Regions from separate parts of the Homo sapiens genome. Here regions 1 and 3 are each linked to region 2. Evidence: promoter capture Hi-C in 16 types of primary human blood cells and fetal thymus (Javierre and others, 2016). All regions are on one chromosome and are shown on one strand. The core of a region is centred on a gene start or on the middle of the fragment in contact, and the rest is flanking DNA. Distances in the headings are between cores, read along the strand shown. Region 1 has its middle 21 kb from the start of PRSS37. Region 2 holds the start of MGAM2 (maltase-glucoamylase 2 (putative)). Region 3 has its middle 30 kb from the start of OR9A4.

Region 1 (4,280 bases), core at 1,738-4,237, 250 kb after region 2:
TCATGCAATACAGAAATATTAATTGAGAATAGTGGGTATGACAGGAACAAGGGAGACGATGGGGCAACACAGAAACTGAGATATAAGGATTAAGGGAGCTCACTGTGGAGCTAGAAGGTGGCTTGATAAACTTGGTTTTTGTGAGTGAATGAAGGGGGAAAAGGAACAAAGAGATGAATCTGGTACTAACAGAGAGAGAGAGAATAAATGAAATTAATAAAGAAACTGAGCAGGAAGTGGGATAGCAAAGGGAACATGGAGGGTGAATGTACCATGTCAAGATTGAAGAATGTGTGAGACAGAAAAAGGGGCCACAGGCCACCTGTCCCTCTGCCCTCTCTCCAATCCACCCTCAGCCCAAGGACACCGCAAAGCCATCTATCCCTTATCACATCGCCTTCCAGAACATACCTCCATTGCGCTCCCTCATTTGATGTTGGCGACGTTAGGTAAAAAAAAATGTTTCTTTCTAAAACCTTTCATCTATGGCTAAGAAGGTGCACAAATTAGGGTTAAACCTGTATCAAAACACATTCATTCTGAAGATTGCTAAGCAGTCAGTATGGGGGAGTGAGTTCACTGTCACAACTTCCAGTCAGAAAACCCATAGAAAGTTACTATCACCATTGAATATTGGAGGCAGGAACTACATTGAAAGCTTGAGGGTGGACCACAGGTCACTGAGAGACACAATAGTGAGGCTTACACGATGAGAACACACCATGAAACCATAAGGCAATAAAGGGGAAGATAATTCTGGCATCTAGAATCAAATTAGTACAGCAGACATCAGATAAATCACATTTCTTGCTTTTCCCATTCACAGTCTGAGAGTTCTAAAATCTTCATGTATTTCAGATGTTTACACTTGTCATATTTATTTTGGGACATGTATTTATATACATTAAAAAGAATAAATTGATGTATTTATTCTTTTTAATGAAGTCACCCAATAATGAATTGAAGCACTGTCTATGCCCTAAATGTTCTTTGTAGATTACAAACTATTTGATGATGAAAACTGTCATTTTAGATTTAAATTAGTACCTTCAGATTACTGAAGTCCATGATAAGGATTGTCCCCAGGACAGAGCTAAATTCTGAGGAGTTGATAGCAGTGTTTCATGCCATCTCCAAAGGCCTGTATGAATTTGTCATTCCTCAGGGTGAAGATGAAAGGGTTCAGAAAAGGGGTCACCACTAAAACCAGCAGTGACGCTATCCGGTTATACTTGGCTGCCTGTGTTTGCTTGGGTTTCGTGTAGAGAAACAAGCAGCTGCTGTAGCCGATCACAACACAGGTGAAGTGGGAGGCACAAGTGGAAAAGGATTTCCTCCAGCCAGAGGCTAACGGGATCTTGAGGATGGTGGAGATGATGTAGGTGTAGGAGACAATCGTAGGGATCAAAAGAACCAATGATAATGAAAACAGCCATTAGAAAAAGAATAAACTCTGTGAAAAGAGTGTCCTCACAGGATACCTTGAGCAATTGTCCTCAGTCACAGTAAAAATGATCTAACACATTTGATTTGCAGAAAGTAAGCTGAAAAGTGGCATAAACTGGCCAGATTTGAAAAAGGAACCCAAACACCCATGATACAATGACCATCCAGACACATGTGCTGCTGTTCATAATGATGTTGTACCTCAAAGGGTTACACACAGCCACATAATGGTCCACAGCCATCACTCCCATTAATGCCAACTCCGAGGTACCCAAAGAAAGGTATATAGCTGTGCAGCACAGGCTGTCAAAGACATGATCTGGGTGCTTGGAAGCAGCAACCCCCCAGCATAAAAGGGGCAGCGGTGGATGTGATCAGGATCTCCAGGACACAGAGGTGGCCCAGGAAAAAATACATGGGGGACTGCAGATGTTTATCAACACAGACAGTGACGATGATGACCGTGTTTCCCATCACTGTCACTGCGTACAAGAAGAAGAAGTTCACAAAAAGGATACGGCGTACTTCTTGGGAGCCAGGGAAGCCTAAGAGAAAAAATTCAGTGGCGCTAGAGTAATTCCCCAACATTTACTTCTGAGTGCTTTTAACTCATGAAATCTAGAAAACAAAAGAGAGTTAATACGGCTTCTCATCTTAACAGAATTAGAAACTGTTCTGCAATCCCCCTCCTGTTCACAGGCCACACACCATGACTAGAATGGTAGGCATTTGTCTTCTACTATTCCTGTATATGGTCAGTGGCAATTTTTCTAAATATGTACAATGTGTGAGGAAAATTGAGTTGGTCATGAAGATGATCCCAGTCCCCAGTGCCATACCTTAGACATGAGAGCCTATACCCTGCCCAGCATGCACCATTGCACCCCCAATGCTCACTTCACCTGCCTCCCTCTCTGCTCTGAACAGCCAGCAGTCAGCCTCCAGGACCACAGTGTGTTCATTTCTACCACTAACTCCCTTCCACCTGGAAGGTCCTAAACTACTCTGTCTGCCAAGTATTTTCTATCCTGTAAATTCCTGCTCCAGTATCATGTTCTATACAAAAGTTTCCCTGCCAACGCCCCTGAGCTGGTTACTCGATTTCTTTGTTTCATCAGAATGTAGGTTCCATTTACAGGATGTTTATTTTAAAACTTTTGCTTTACCTTCATCATTATTGCTGTGTGTTGGTGAGAGTGAGGGTATGGAAGTCTCCTCCTGAGGAGTATCTGTAAATTTTCAAGGGCAAGGACTGAGGATCTCTCAATCTACTGGTCAGCTGGTTCCCTGCATGGATTACTCCTTTCTTCCTTCCTATCTTGGGGATGAAAGCCTCCCTTACTTTTGTCCTCAGTGAATGTGTCTTCTCACAGAAGGCTGACAAACCACACCTGGCCTGAGTTGAACCTGGCCATCTCTCTCTAAGACTCTGACAACTCTTTTCATCATTGCGAGAGAAGAAAGATTCAGACAGAATATAAAGGAGGAACTTTTATCCTCAGCCTCTCTCTGTCCCACTTTGACCTCATACTCGGACTGGCAAACAAAAGGATTTAGGTCTACAGACCTTGCCTCTAGGAGAGCTCAAAGCCACCAAGTGTGACTTCCAGGTTCAGCCCAGGTCCTAAATATCGAGGCTATGGTCTCATTCTATTAGAAAGGTTGGGATGTATCCTCAATGTTCCTTATATAATCACATTTTTCTCCCAAAATCATACCAGAAATTAAAAAGTCAGCTGTCACTAACGTAAAATAGACCCCATTTCCTGAGTACCTTAGAATTTCTGGGCTTTATCCCTTACTTCCTTCAGGTCTTTGCTTAAGTGTCCAAGTTCAGGGAAACTGTCCTCATCATTCTGTCTAAAAAAACACATACTATCCTTCACTCGCTATCTCCTCACTGAGATCTACTTTTCTCTTTAGCCTTCATCACTTGAAATTGTATGTTTACGTTTTGTTTATTTTGTCATTCATTTTACAATGTAAGCACCATGAAAGCAAGAAGATTGTCATTCTTGTTCATTGTGTCTCATGATCTAGTATTATTTCTGAATGAATTAAATGAATTCATCAATTAAAGGATGAATCTATGGTCAGAGCCTATGCACACTTGGCTATGGCCAATGTTGAAGCAGCTGCTTTCTCTCCCTTCTGTCTTCACTGACACAGTGCCCAGTCATCATTCAGTCCTCTCTCTGAGACCTCTTGTAAAATGATATTTGGGTAACAAGGATCAACTCGATAGAAGAACTCAGTCCGAATTCCCACAATCTCTGCTTACGTGGGACCCAGTAAAAAGAAAGGAGAGATGATGGTTCTAACAATAGCAATGACCTGTGCCTATGTCAAGCACTGAGTCAGAGAATAGTTGAAAGTGCTTTCTGCTATGCAAGAAGAATTTGAAGATGAGCCTATTACTCTTTAATAAAATCTGAGTGTCCTCATCCTAGAGGGCAAACAGGCCCAGAACGTTCTATTCTGAGCCTCTCCTAGTTTCTCCTTCACAGAGCAGAACTCCTGGAAAACACTCATCTCCAGAGAAATACCCTGAAGTGAAAAGTTGAATGGCTCTCTAGGACTCGACCCAGGCTGCCTCCTGACTGATTAGTGCTGAGATTGCTCTGTGGGCCAGAGGAAGCTGCTGCTTCTTCACTCTCAGTGAAAGAGAAAACTGACTTCACACAAACACTGAGGAGAAAGTCTAGAAATCATAATGCCATGGGATGCCCCACTGTTTCCCTCTTTCTCTTTCCCTCCTTCTTTCACTCTGCAATGCATCCCTAAGTAATATTATTCACTAAGGAAAGTTAGTTCAGGGAAACCCTAGGGATGCA
Region 2 (4,399 bases), core at 1,089-3,588:
AGGTTCAAGTGATTCTCCCGCCTCAGCCCCGCGAGTAGCTAGGACTACAGGCACCCGCCATCATGCCCAGCTAATTTTTATATTTTTGTAGAGACAGGGTTTCACCATGTTGGCCAGGTTGGTCTTGAACTCCTAACCTCAGGTGATCCGCCCGCCTTGGCCTCCCAAAATGCTAGGATTACCTGCGTGAGGCACCACGCTCAGCCCTATTTCATTAAATGTTGATGCCCCCCAAATTCTGGTATAGGCTTCTTTTTTAAACTACGCAGACACGTTGGGTAATCTCCACCACTCATGTGACTTTATATGACATGTGATGGCAATCCAACCTGTATTTCTAGCCCAGGGATTTAGATTCATATATTCAACTGCCTATTGGATGTCCCACAGATTCAATAAGATTTAACATGTTTAAACATGAAATCATCTCTCCCCACACCTCACTCCCAGTTCCTGCCAATTTGGCCAAATTATCTGTTCTTCAAATAATTAATAACTTGAGGAATAGAATCACATTATAAAAAAAAAACCTAGGAATCTTTTTTTAATTCCTCTCATTCTGTTAGTTCTCACAGCCAGTTAACAGTTCAGTCAGACTACTTTCCCGGTATCTTTGGGTCATTACCCAAGTGACCAGCACAAACAGGGTCATTTGGATCTCCTATATTCAAGCCTTTAATGGATCTCTGAATAAACCAAAAACCCTTTAGCTTTGTGATCAAAGGTCTTCATGGCACGTCCTAACCCCAGCTGCTCAGCGTCTCCTCTCCCCATATTCCCACCATACTAAACCAGCACTTATGCAGCAACAAGCTATTAAATATAAGTCAGCAGGGACAAAGACTGTTCTCTCTCTTATTTTTATGTTGATTTTGCATCTCCTCTTACTTTTCATTTCCCTGCCTCCCTGCTCTTCTCAACTCCTCCCCAATGCCACGACCATTTCTACAAATATTTTTATATAGGTATATAGCTTCAATTTTTAATTACAGTAGCCTTTAGGTTAATGTGTAATAATTCCATAAAAGAAGCACTTTAATATTGAAATAGAGGTAAGGAACTAGGACCTACAGGTAATTTGCCAACAGGCATTTAGGAAGAACCCTTAGCCCTTGGAGACACGAGGTTTGGGATTAAAATTGAGGTTTATTAACTATTCTTTACTATTTACCTAAATTAATCAGTTGTCTCTCTTTTAGTCTAAATTATTTAAAAGATATACTCTAATCCCTATAAAATATATATCATATGACTGTATTCTCATAAAATCCCTGCATTGAAGCTGATCAGACAGATATCATGATTTCCATTTTATAGATGAATATTAAGAAATTTTGTCTAGTCACGGTTAGTGGTGGAACTGAGACAAACACCGAGAGCCGCTACTTTTTAAAATAGTACTTGAATACTCTCTCGACAATGTATCCTAGGCTGCAGAGCTTAAAGACTTAGAGGATCGGTCTCCAATGGTGGAATTTCAGGTAGAGAAAGAAGTAGGAAGGACCTACCCTAAGAGTGCTATGGTATCAAACTTCGTTTCTTATACATACAGCCCACAACTCAATACCACAGCAAAGGCATTATTCATCAATTGGTCTCTTTCTGCAAGTATTATTTCTCTCCACAGGGAGACTTTTTTCTTTCTAGCTTCTAAAAATCAGCAGCAGGGACCTACTCCACAGCTCCTCAATCCTCCTGAGGGAGCAGGTTCAGCACCTTAGCTCAGGAAGTACAGGAACGCTCTGGGAATAACCCTGGGTATTTTCCTGCCTTAGGAGCTATTGTCATTCAGGCAGAGGACAGGATGGGGATTCCTAAAGGTAGAAATTCTTGCCTACTTAGAAACCCTTCCTGCCCAAAGCTGGGAGGAATTCACCTTCCTCCAAATCCATGCCATCTTGAGATAGTTTCCAGAAGGATCCCATCTGTTTCCTCTGTCCTTAATTTCTCCCAGTGAGAGAGGAGGATCTCACACCAGACCTCCCCCAACCTGTCCTCCAAACACTGACACCACACACACACACACACACACACACACACACACACACACACACACAGTCTCTCCTCTCCATCAACTATCTCATCCTCACTCCTCATATTTTATGGAAAAGGAAGAAAATATTAAGTCCAGAAGGAAAACATGGGCATCCAGATCACTTAACAGAGCAGCAGACAGAAAATCACACAAAAAGAAAGGGACCTTCCTGCCCTTGTTCAAAGCCCTGCTTGCATGGAGAAGCGTACTCACCGCATCACCTTGTTTTTTTCTATGCTGTATCTCTCCCTCAGCAATTCATAGGGAGCACTGAGCAAAGGTAACTGGGCTGAGGTAGCCAGCTTCTGCCACAATTAATTTATTGCCTTATAAAGTTGACAGCAACTGGAGGAGGGGAGTGCATATTCCAATAGGTCATAAAAGAACGCTTGTTCTCCATGTGACACAGAATGAAAGCTCCTTTTGTTAATAAAAGGGGAAGGTGGTTTTTTTTCTACTCATTGTCCCTCTTCTGTATCCCTGTTCATATCTGATTACTTGTCACGTTATGTTTCCTCATCTATACATGTAGCCTAAAGGGCTCAAGAGCTAGGGTCTTGTCTATCTTCTTCACTGTTGTATCTCCTGTGCTTAGCACTCTGCCCAATATCCATAGTTCTTTTTAAATATATAGCTATTTATTTAATAAGTAAGTGAAAGAAGGATTAGCTCTTAGTTCATCACTTTGTTCTTTTCTCCATTTTCATCCTCCAGAGTTCTCTTGGTATAACTCAGCTTTTCATTAATTCAAATGATCCTTTCCACCAATTATTCTAAATAGTGAAGTACCATTAAAGTAGCAATTATACAAACCCGTCCAGGTGCAGTGGCTCACACCTGTAATCCCAGCACGTTGGGAGGCCGAGGTGGGCGGATCACCTGAGGTCAGGAGTTTGAGACCAGCCTGGCCAACGTGGTGAAACCCCATCTGCACAGCCAGGCATGGTGGCAGGCGGCTGTAATCCCAGCTACCCAGGAGGCTGAGGCAGGAGAATCGCTTGAACTCAGGAGGTGGAGCTGGCAGTGAGTTGAGATTGCCCTATTGCACTCCAGCCTGGACAACGAGAGCAAAACTCCATCTCAAAAAAAATAAAAGAGAAAGAATGTATACAAACCTAAAGTGGGAAGATGCCTCTAGTGGACATTTGTCATGTTCTTCGATGGCTCAGCATCTTTCAAAACCTCTTGCTAAGATGGGGGAGGTGGGGAGGGAGACAAAGGTAGTAACACTACCTATTGGGTACTATACTCACTACCTAGGTGACAGGTTCAATCACACCCCAAACCTCAGCATCACACAATATACCCTTGAAATGAACCTGTATATGCACCCTGAATCTTAGACCCTGAATCTAAAATAAAAGTTGAAAAAAATTTAAAAACGGAGGATCTTTCTTTAAAAAGAAAAAGAAAACCTCTTACTTAAATCAACTTAAGGACTTTTTCTCCAAATTCTGCCTCCCCAAAGAAACAGCTAGAAATTCTCTTTCACAGCCTTTCTTTCATCCAAGGTAGAGGCAAGTGGCTGGAGCTTTGTGAATGAGATATTCCTGTGAGTGACTTACATCCAGAAGAAGGTGTAGATAAGGAGGTACCATGTAAAATCCAGGATGTTGGAAGCATAGCTCGTTTCAGAGGCAGCAGGGACAAGAGACCTAGTGGCATCCTATGCTCAGTATTTGGGGTTGCGAGCTGCCAGATATGTGCTCAGGGCAGTGGCAGTAGAAACCGCTACAGGGTAACCTGGGGCTTGTCCCTAGCCACATGGCCTACAAACCTGACTCTCTAGTCCTACCGGAGTTTCAATGAGTCACCAATATCTTTTTAAAATTTTTCTTAAGCCAGCTAAAGTGGATTTTTAAATTGACATATAATTTCCAAACCATAAGATTCACTCTTTTAAAGTATACAATTCAGTGTTTTTAAAAATATATTTACAAAATTCTGAAACTATCACCACTATCTAATTCCAGAACATTTTTGCCACCCCCAAAAATAATTAGTGGTCACTCCCCATTCCCATCTCCCCCTGTTTCTGCAGCCACTAACCTACTTTCTGTCCTTATGGATTTGCCTATTGTGAACATTTCATATAAATGCAGTAATACAATATGTGGCCATCTGTGTCTGGCTTCTTTTACTTGGCATGATATTTTCAAAGTTCATCCACACCATTTCAGGTATCAGTGTCTGTTCCTTTCCATGTCTGGATAGTATCCACTGCGTGGATAGACCACATTTTGTTTAGGCATGTATCAGCTGATATACATCTAGGTTGTTGATACTTTTTGCCTGTTATGAACGATGCTGCTATGAGCTGACACGTTTTAAAATTCTGCCTGGAATATACCTAGGAGTGGAATC
Region 3 (4,518 bases), core at 856-3,355, 230 kb after region 2:
TTTTTAAACGATGTATTAAAAGAATTTAATACAAAATGAAGCCATGTCATAGCTTAAATATCCATTGTAGATCATGAGCTGTTTGATTTTGAGAATGATCATTTTGTTTCAATTAGTACTATCAGATTACTCAAATCCATGATGAGGATTTGAACTGTACTCAGGACAGACTTAATTTTTAAGGAGTTTATAGCAGTGTTTCATGCCATCTCCAAAGGCCTGTATGAATTTGTCATTCCTCAGGGTGAAGATAAAAGGGTTCAGAAAAGGGGTCACCACTAAAACCAGCAGTGACACTACCCTGTTATACTCGGCTGCCTGCGTTTACTTGGGTTTCACGTAGAGAAACAAGCAGCTGCCATAGCCAATCACAACATAGGTGAAGTGGGAGGCACAGGTGGAAAAGGATTTCCTCCAGCCAGAGGCTGACGGAATCTTGAGGTTGGTGGAGATGATGTAGGTGTAGGAGACAATCGTAGGGATCAAAGAACCAATGATAATGAAAACAGCCATTAGAAAAAGAATAAACTCTCTGAAAAGAGTGTCCTCACAGGATACCTTGAGCAATTGTCCTCGGTCACAATAAAAATGATCTAACACACTTGATTTGCAGAAAGTAAGCTGAAAAGTGGCATAAACTGGCCAGATTTCAGAAAGAAACCCCAAAACCCATGACACAATTATCACCCAAATGAAGGTGCTGCTGTTCATAATGATGTTGTACCTCAAAGGGTTACACACAGCCACATAACGGTCCACAGCCATCACTCCCATTAATGCCAACTCCAAGGTACCCAAAGAAAGGTATAAATATAGCTGTGCAGCACAGGCTGTCAAAGACATGATCTGGGTGCTTGGAAGCAGCAACCCCCAGAGCATAAAAGGGACAGCGGTGGATGTGATCAGGATCTCCAGGACACAGAGGTGGCCCAGGAAAAAATAAATGGGGGACTGCAGACATTTATCAACACAGACAGTGATGATGATGACCACGTTTCCCATCACTGTCACTGCATACAAGAGGAAGAAGGTCGCAAATAGGATACGGCATACTTCTTGGGAGCCAGGGAAGCCTAAGAGAAAAAATTCAGTGGCGCTAGAGTAATTCCCCAACATTTACTTCTGAGTGCTTTTCCCTTCTGAAATCTAGAGAAAAAAAAAAGAGTTAATATGGCTTCTCATCGCAACAGAAGTAGAAACTGTTCTGAAATCCCCCTCCTGCTCACAGGCTGCACAGCATGACTAGAATGGTAGGCATTTGTCTTCTACTATTCCCTGTATATGGTCAGGCGCGATTTTTCTTTTCTTTTCTTTTCTTTTTTTTTTGAGATGGAGTTTCACTCTTGTCACCCAGGCTGGAGTGCAATAGCATGATCTCAACTCACTGTAACCTCCACTGTAACCTCCTAGGTTCAAGAGATTCTCCTGCCTCAGCCTCCCGGCTAGCTGAGATTACAAGCATGTGCCACCATACCCAGCTAATTTTTTTGTATTATTAGTAGAGATGGGGTTTCACCATGTTGGCCAGGCTAGTCTCAAACTCGTGACCTCAGGTGATCCACCCGTTTCGGCCTCCCAAAGTGCTGGGATTATAGGTGTGAGCTGCCACGCCTGGTTTAGGGGCAATTTTTCTAACTATGCACAATATGCCAAGAAAATTGAGTTGGCCAAGAAGATGATCCCAGTCCCCAGTGCCATACCTTAGACATGAGAGCCTATACCCTGCCCAGCATGCACCATTGCACCCTCAATGCTCAGTTTACCTGCCTCCCACTCTGCTCTGAACAGCCAGCAGTCAGCCTCCAGGACCACAGTGTATTCATTTCTACCACTAACTCCCTTCCACCTGGAAGGTCCTAAACTACTCTGTCTGCCAAGTATTTTCTGTCCTGTAAATTCCTGCTCCAGTATCATGTTCTATACAAAAGTTTTCCTGGCCAACACCCCTGAGCTGGCTACTTGATTTCTTTGTTTCATCAGAATGTAGGTTCCATTTACAGGATGTTTATTTTAAAGCTTCTGCCTTACCTTCATCATCATTGCTGTGCGTTGGTGAGAGTGAGGGTAGGGAAGTTTCCTGAGGAGTTTCTATAAATTCTCGAGGGCAAGGACTGAGTATCTCTCAATCTACTAGTCAGCTGGTTCCCTGCATGGATTACTCCTTTCTTCCTCCCTATCTTGGGAAGAAAGCTTCCCTTGCTCCTGTCCTCAGTAAATGTGTCTTCTCACAGAAGGCAGGCAACCAGCACCTGGGCTGAGTTGAGCCTGACCATCTCTCTCTAAGACTCTGACAACTCTTTCCACTGTTCTTAGAGAAAGAAAATTCAGGCGAAATACAGAGGAAAAACTTTTATCCTCAGACTCTAACTGTCCCACACTGAACTTATGCTGGCTCTGACAAATAGGAGACTTTAGTCCCATTTCAACATCCTCTGGCTTCAGGATAATCCAAAGCCCTGGATCCATCAGGAGACCAAAACCACCAAGTGTGACATCTGGGTTCAGCCCATGTCCTAAATACAGATGGCTTTGGTCTCGGTCTAACAGTAAATTTAGGAAGTCACCTCAGGGCCTATATTTCTTCTATGAACACATTCCTCTCCCAAAATCATATTAGAAATTGAAGATTCCACTGTCACTCACATGAAACAGACCCTGCATCCTGAGTAACTTAGAATTCCTGGGCTTTATTTATCACTTCTTTCAGGTTTTTGGTCAAGTATCTGAGTTCAAATTTTCTCTTCATTCTGTCTAAAAGAACACACACAACCCTTCACTCTCTATCACCTCATCAGAATATATTTATCTTTTTAGCGCTCATCATGAGAAATTATATGTTTACTTTTTATTTTCTGACTCATTTTACAATGTAAGCACCACGAAAGCAAAAAGATTGTAATTTTTATTCACTATATCTCATACAGAATGAGGTGGTACTACTTTTGAGTGAATCAATGAATTGATCAATTAAAGAATGAATCTGTGAACAAAGCCCCTCCAAATCAGGCTATAGCCAATGCTAAAAGAAACTGCTTTCTCTCCCTTCTGTCTTCACTGAGACAGTGATCAGTCATAATTCAGTCCTCTCTCTGAGACCCCTTATAAAATGGCAGTTGGGTAACAAGTACAGACTTGACGGAAGAGCTCAGTAGAGTGATTTCCACAATCTCTCTTTACCCAGAACCAGATGAAAAGAAAGTAGAGATGATGTCAAGGATGGTTTTGACAATAGCAAGGAGTTGTACTGCATCCAGCAATGAATCAGAGAAGAAGTGAAAGTGCTCTCTACTGTACAGGGGGAATTTGGAGATGAGCCAATCTCCTTTGCCTCTCTCATAGCTTACCCATTAGGGTCTGAATGCCCTTGCTCTAGAAAGTTGGCAGGTCTAAAACTTTCCATCCTGAACCTCTCTCACTCTTTTCTACACAGATGGAAACTGCTGGAATTCACTTACCTTCAAAGAAATTGAAGTGAAAAGCCATATGACTCTAAGTCTCAACCCAGACTACATCATGCCTGATTAGTGCTGAGACTGCTCTGTGGCCCAGAAGAAGCTACGACTTCCTCCCTCTCGGTGAACGAGAAAACTGTCTTCACATATGTATTTAGGAAAAGGTCCAGAAATCATAGTGCCATGGAATGCCCCACAGTTTCTCTCTTTCTCTCTCCCTCTGTCTTTTCTTCTTCAACGTGTCTCTAAGGAATGTTATTCATTGAGGAAAGTTAGTTCAGAAAAACCCTAGGGATGCAGGGAAGGAGAAAACAAAGGAAGTTTCAGATCTTCCCTCCTGAGGCTAATCAAGATTTAGAACTCCTAGAAGTTTGGTATAATGAGCAAAGTTAAAATCTTCCTCATCAAGAGTGTCCCAACATCCAGGTTTCTTTTTGCTACACATTGAATCCAGGTTAGCATCAAACTGTTCGAGTCAGCCCCCTGTGCTTTTCTAAATTTATTTATTTATTTATTTATTTTGAGACAGAGTCCCACTCTGTCACCCAGGCTAGAGTGCAGTGGTGCAGTCTTGGCTCACTACAACCTCCGCCTCCCCGGTTCAAGTGCTTCTCCTGCCTCAGCCTCCTGAGCAGCTGGGACTACAGGCACACGCCACCACGCCCGGCTAATTTTTGTATTGTTAGTACAGACAGGGTTTTACCATGTTGGCCAGGATGGTCGTGATCTCTTGACCTCGTGATCTGCCTGCCTCGGCCTCCCAATGTGCTCTTATGTTTATTTCCCTAATTCCACTTAGCTCTACAAAGCCCAAGTTATCAGCAAGCAGAAAACTCCACAAAAGTTTCCAAGACACACATCAAAAATCCTCAGGGCAGGGAATAGTGCGTGATGTGAGCAAAATATTAGCCTAGGAAGCTCCAAGCTCCTTTCCCTCCAGAGAAACAAAAGAAAACAGCAGAAACTGTCAGAACCAACTTCGCCAGAACTCTGGAAAACATTCAAAGTTTTTCAGGAACCAAGCAAACACTGGTTCAAGAAGAAGACAACTTTAAAATGTTAGGAA

The links. The method cuts DNA at HindIII sites, captures the fragments that hold promoters and counts their contacts. A CHiCAGO score of 5 or more calls a contact.
Region 1: a fragment that was not itself captured here is called in contact with the fragment with the promoter of MGAM2 in region 2 in 1 of 17 cell types (monocytes); the score reaches 6.2 in monocytes.
Region 3: a fragment that was not itself captured here is called in contact with the fragment with the promoter of MGAM2 in region 2 in 1 of 17 cell types (M1 macrophages); the score reaches 5.0 in M1 macrophages.

The regions. Positions count from the first base shown.
Region 1 is chr7:141,860,614-141,864,893 of GRCh38, reverse strand. It overlaps the pseudogene OR9A3P. Among named protein-coding and RNA genes, the nearest start is that of PRSS37, 21 kb to the right of the region's middle. The HindIII fragment of the contact is 4,653 bases long and covers 661-4,280 here.
Region 2 is chr7:142,109,657-142,114,055 of GRCh38, reverse strand. MGAM2 (maltase-glucoamylase 2 (putative)) reads right to left here and starts at 2,338. Exons shown (of 48, transcript NM_001293626.2): 1 at 2,249-2,338. The HindIII fragment of the contact is 17,675 bases long and covers 1-4,399 here.
Region 3 is chr7:141,883,746-141,888,263 of GRCh38, reverse strand. It overlaps the pseudogene OR9A1P. Among named protein-coding and RNA genes, the nearest start is that of OR9A4, 30 kb to the left of the region's middle. The HindIII fragment of the contact is 174 bases long and covers 2,019-2,192 here.